Regions from separate parts of the Homo sapiens genome. Here region 1 is linked to region 2. Evidence: promoter capture Hi-C in human tissues and cell types (Jung and others, 2019). All regions are on one chromosome and are shown on one strand. Each heading gives the region's core, a stretch centred on a gene start or on the middle of the fragment in contact. The rest is flanking DNA. Distances are from core to core; before and after follow the strand shown. Region 1 overlaps SLC10A7 (solute carrier family 10 member 7). Region 2 holds the start of OTUD4 (OTU deubiquitinase 4).

Region 1 (3,059 bases), core at 73-2,572, 1.2 Mb after region 2:
TTAATTTGGCTTTTTCTATCCAGGTTAAGAGTGACAAAAACAATTTGAAATTTAATTAGAGCCCAGGGCAACAGAGATGTGGGAACTTTCTATCATTTTCCAAAAGATTTTCATGTAAACATCTTCTAAGTTTTAGATTTAACAGGCAATAAATAATTTTCTAAAGAAGTTTCTTAAAAATGCTTATTTGCAGAGTATATATTAGACCAAGGAGGAAGCAAAAGGAAACTAAATCAAAATTTATTTTTTGAAGACTAGAGTATAAAGACATAAGCTTTCACAGTGAAAGTAAGACCTAACAGAGCTCACTTTGGCCTGCATGCCTCCACCATGGGCACACAGCTACAATCTGAGGTTGCAGTTTTATTTTCCCTGAGAACACATGGAGCAGCCAATTATTAGTAGCACTGCAAACATTACACACAAGATACACAGCTCTCTTAAAATGTCAAGAGGATCATTTCACATTATCCAATGGTCAGCCAAAGTTCCTATGGCCTGAATATTATACATAGGAGCTTGTAGTATTTCTTGCTTTAGAATCATGGTTCAGTTGATATAAAACACCACCATCATAAAAATAGCCAATATTTATTGAGGTATATTATGTACTAGGAACTGTGCTAAGTACATTACAAACATTATCTAATTTAAAATTCTGGTAAGTAAATTGATTATCCTAATTTTATAGGTGAGAATAGAAAAGAGGCTTATAGAGACTAACCTAAGGAAGTGTCAGAAGATAGAACTCAACAAAAGGAATAAAAACAAAGTTGAGAGATCAGGAGATGGTCTGAGTTGTTAAAAAGAAAAAAATGTGCAAAGGAGGAAGCAGAAAATTTAAAAGAAAAAGATATTTAAGAAACAGATTGTAGAAAATTAATGTAAAATATATAATATTAATTAAAATTAGAGTCAACGATTACATATATAACTTGCCACTGGTGTTGGAATACATGAAAATAAGGCACTAAGTAACTCTCTTAGGTCACTAGAGTAACATGGATGTTTTTTCCCACTGGTTTAAAAGATTTAATGTGTATCTGCCATTCTGCTCATTGATGTCTGTAACACAACAGTGCCTGGCAAATATTAGGCATGCAATAATTTTTTTTGCTGAATGAAAGAACAAATGAATAGATGAATGTGTGTCCACAAATGTTTCTCTCATGGAGCAGCATATCCATTTGATAAGAAACACACACACTTTCTGAAATGTTTTAAAACCCTTGTGTTTGTAATAATAATGAGACTAGTTGACATTTATTGAATGCCTACTGTGTATATGTCAGCAACTGTTCTATGCTCTTTATATTTACTAACTCATTTGGTCCTCACAACAAACCTATGAGAAAGCTGCCACTACAATTCTCATTTTACAGAGGAGAAAATTGAGGTACATAGACAAGGAATTGTTCAGAATTCCCAAGCAGTAAGTGGCAGAATGGGAAGCAAGTCATGCAGTCTGGTTCCAGAATCCAAGATCTCTACCATTGTGTTGATATACTGGATAGGAGTTCTTTAAGAATTTAGAGAAATCAAAGAATTCTAGCTGAAAGAGACATTAGGGATAATGTGTTACCTCACTTTACAAACTGAAAAGTTGATGCCCAAGGAGGCAATGTCTCTCACTCTTGGGTGCAGAGTTAGTGGAAACACAAGGAGTAGCATTTTAGTGTCTCAAATTCCCTGCCCAGTTCTTTATTTCTGATACCACACTGCCTCCTACAAACCACTTGAGTAGAACAAAGCTCACATATGGAAGATCTGAAAGCAGTTACTCAGCACTATATTATTTACCATACATATAAAGCAACAAAACAAAACAAAACAAAAACACATAGATGATAAAATTAGAACAGATTAGAGGAAGGTTTTTAAAAGAGATTAAATCTTGAAATAGGCACTTTCATCCCTACCCTAAAAGGCCCATGAATTACCAACAAGACTATGGGAGAACATTTTTGAAAAAGCAAGGCAGAGACGTGGAATATGGAGGAGGGGGATAGTATGAAGTTCAATGAGGACAGAGAAAGGAGGCAATGGAAAGTGACTTGAGGGAGATTTGGGGAAGGGGCTTCTTATGTAGGCTCCTGGATGTTAAAATAAACTTCTAAAATAATCAAAAACTGATTCTCTTTTATATAAGACACTCAAAATAATGGTTTAATCAAAATCACTATTCAGATTTATAACAGAACTTTAACATAAACAAACAAAAAACCCAGACCATGTCTACACATGTGAAATGAATAGGTTTGGCATAGCTCATCTATTCCTTTTGGACGTGTCTAAATGATGGCACACACTGCTGTTAGATCTAGCTGTGACGATCAATACTGAGTATAAGATGGACACAATGAATGGAGACATCTGCACTACACTTGCCTTGTTTCATATTTCAATGGTCTGATTTACTCTGGTTTTTATAATATTCCTTAGCCAGAGCCATTCCTGCAGCTTAGAAAACCAGCTCTGAACTTTGTGACTCAGAGAGGCTTCAGTCAGGAGAAGGAGGTGGATTAACCAATGGTCCTAAGAAAGGTTTGCACCTCACATGAGCATCATTGGTCCACAGATCCTCCTGCCACCCCCAACACAAAGAGGCAGTAGGATCTGGGTATGCAGTTGCTTCCTTCCCTATCTACCTCTCACCATTGACACCAATTTTAAACAGGTTTCTCCCTAATAACATGTTTATTTATTATTTTTTCTCCAAGCCTAATCTACCAGATAAGGCATTTATTTTTTCTCATATCCTCACTTCTACTGACATGTTTTCCTGCCTTTTTATAGTTTCATTTGTCGTTTTTTTTTTTTTAATTTTACTTTAAGTTCCAGGATACATGTGCGGGATGTGCAGGTTTGTTACATAGGTATACATGTGTCATGGTGGTCTGCTGCACCTATCAACCCATCATCTAGGTTTTAAGCTCCGCATGCATTAGATATTTGTCCTAATGCTCTCCCTCCCCTTGTCCCCCACCCCGACAGGTCCCGGTGTGTGATAACATGTTTATTTTTATTAAATATCAGTAGTTGCTTCTTTCCCTATCTAC
Region 2 (2,826 bases), core at 195-2,694:
CTTTCTACTACCAACATCAAAACAGGCTTTTTTAAAAAAGTCAGTTCTGTTTAGTATACCTACACAGCCCAGCAGAGCATAATAAAGGGTGGAACCTACTCAAGACAAATCCTTCAAAATATTCTATATTTGTAAAAGGCTGGTTTTCTCAAACGGCAGTTTGCCCATTTGATTCAAGTGACATGGGCGAGCTTGCCTACCCTACATTCCAAAGTCCAGCAGCAAACCAAAATATGTTCCACAAGTAAAGTTTGATCCACCACTTCTAGTAAACACTTGGTTTACTGGAGTGGGGTGAGCGTGGTGCTTCTCAAACGAAGGGAAGGAAGGTGAATGCGGAACAAAAGTAAAAAATATCATGTCGCCAGGTCCCCAGCAATAAATCAACTGTACAAGCTCCGAGCAGGCCTCACAAGTTGTCCTCAACTCATTACCTCTTCATCAGGAGAGAGACACCCCGTTAATTTGCGGGCTTTCGAGTTTCAATTTGCACCTTTCAGACGCAAAGCAGCGTCCCACTCCGGCGTTACAATGGGGCGCTGTGACGACAGCCAGGGCACGCGCAGCCCCGGCCGTGGGCGGCCCGGACAGCCCGCAGCTGCCTCCCCACCCAGACCCGCCGGGCCGTCCCCGCCTCCCCTCGAAGCCCTCCCCGCCCCCCCGCAATTACCTGCTCCGCCACGGCCCGGAACAGGCACGACCCGTCCTTGGCGACCAGTTTCCGATACAAGCCCAGTTTCCGCAGATAGGCGTCCATGGGCGTCGCGTCCTCGCGGGGCCCCGCGCCGCCCTGGTCCCCGCCGTCGGGGACGCCGACGGCAGCCTCCATGTTGCTGGTCCTGCTGCAGGCCAGGCGCGGCGAGGGCTAGCCCCACATGGCCAGGCCGCCGGCTGCTCGACGCCCCGGCCTGGGGCAGGCGGCGGCTCGGGCTGGGGCTCGGGCTCCGCGAGCGGCGGCAGGCGGCGGCGGCCCGAGGCAGCGGTCCGCGCTCTCCGGGCGCATAGGGAAGCCCTGCCTAATGCATGGCTGTCCGCACGCGGCCGCCTCCTCGGAGCGAACACGCGCCCACGACAAACGGGGGGAGCGGGATTAAGGAAAACCCCGAGAGTGAGTAGTCACTTCCCGACGGCCTCGCTGCCTGACTCAGGACCCAGGCCGGGGGTCGCCGCCCCCACAAGTTTCCTCCTCCGTACCGGTGTGAAGCGAGAAAACCCCCGCCCCTGGCGCGCACGCTGGGCCGGCTCAGGTGAAGCGGGGCCTGCGCCCCCGCGCACTCCCCACGCCGGGAGCCGAGGAAACCAAAAAGAAAGACGCGGCCTTTCGTTTCCCCACCTCGCTGGAGGGCGCCGGAGGGGCAGGGAGCGGGTGGGGGCGCCCGGGAGAGAACAGCACCTCGCAGCCCAGAATTTGTTTTCGCTTTCGGCCCGACAGCGGAGAGGACGGCGGGAGATGTAGTCTTGGCAGCCGCAGGAAGTCGGCTTGCGGCGGGCGGGGACGCGCTGGCCGGCCTACCCGGGGGAGGTGCCCGGGAGGCGCGCGGACTACAAGTCCCTACAGCGCGGGCGCGCCGCCGCCACCGCCACCGCCCCAAGCCGGCTTCGCGCTGCACTGGCGCCGCGTCCGCGAGCAGGCCGAGGGGCTCCGCCGGCCGATGTGGGGCGACCTGCGCGCGCCACCCGCCAACCCTGCCGCTGCGCCGCGGGAATCGCGCGCGCCGGGCTGGCGTGGAGTTGCCAGGGACACGGCGGCGCAGTGTCGGCCCTTTGTGTATTTCTTTCCAGAGGGCGCACCTGTCTGCTCCCTTCCCCCCGGCCTGCTCTCCTGGTGTTTCCATGGAGGTGGCTTTAACGGCTTAAGCAGAAAATAGAGCTAATTGGCTGAGGCTCCGGGAACTGGCACGGTGCGGGACGACACACTCTGTCCATAAATCAACCGTGGACTGCTGATTGCTATTAGTAGTACAGCTCACGTACTACGGCAAGATGAAGGCTTTGCCAAAGACATTTTTGTTCACCCTGTCACTGTAGCTGAGCACCCCATCACAGAGACATGTCACTGTCGGAAGACGTTAGGGTTTTTTTTTCCCCCTTAAAAAATTCATCTTGTAAATTGCTTGATAACATGCTGACTGGACTGGCCATGGCTTCCACCAGTGCTCGAGGCTTCAGCTCAACTTCCCACCCTCCGACGTTGAATGGCAGGGAATTGACAAAGTTAAATTATGCTTTAGAACCCAGAATTTATCCAGCATGCTTCTGTTGCACCAAAATTTTATTTTGCTAAGATACAACATCTGGTGTCCTTATTTAAATACATGGTTAATCATAGGAACTAATTCAGTCTTTTAGGCTATGGTGGAGGAGAGGGAGAAGAAAAGGGAGCATTACTATAGGTTTAGACATGTAGTCAAATACCTTGGAATGGGGGGCAAGGCAGGCCAGGTGGTGAGAGTCCAACGACAAAAATTTTTTAAAAACTACGTTAGACACTTTTCAGTATTTTCAGTGCAAGCAATCAGTCATGTATTCACTTTCCTTGGAGCGTCTTTGATTTCTTAATGTTTAAATATTGTATCTCAAATTATGCTGCTTTTAGAGAATACAAACGTTATCGTTACCTAAATGAAAAAATGTCCCTGCCTCAAATTTACTTGTTGTAGCGAAGAAACACTTTGAAATCAGGTTTAGAAAAGTATAGTTTCAGCTGGGCGTGGTGGCTCACGCCTGTAATCCCAGCACTTTGGGAGGCCGAGGCAGCCCGGTCACCTGAGGTCAGGAGTTCGAGACCAGCCTGACCAACATGGAGAAACCCCGTCTCTACTAAAA

The links. Contacts are between HindIII fragments. The study calls those that stand out against the background at their distance.
Region 1: a contact is called between a fragment that was not itself captured here and the fragment with the promoter of OTUD4 in region 2, in 1 of the 25 tissues and cell types used here (heart left ventricle).

Annotation. Positions count from the first base shown.
Region 1 is chr4:146,337,001-146,340,059 of GRCh38, forward strand. All of the region lies in intron 5 of SLC10A7 (solute carrier family 10 member 7), which reads right to left. Among named protein-coding and RNA genes, the nearest start is that of MIR7849, 70 kb to the right of the region's middle. The HindIII fragment of the contact is 6,347 bases long and covers 1-3,059 here.
Region 2 is chr4:145,179,145-145,181,970 of GRCh38, forward strand. It overlaps OTUD4 (OTU deubiquitinase 4), which reads right to left and starts at 1,445. Exons shown (of 21, transcript NM_001366057.1): 1 at 671-1,445. The coding sequence starts at 829. RefSeq lists enhancers at 547-1,376, 1,377-2,206 and silencers at 552-1,011, 1,132-1,361, 1,452-1,851. The HindIII fragment of the contact is 5,371 bases long and covers 1-2,826 here.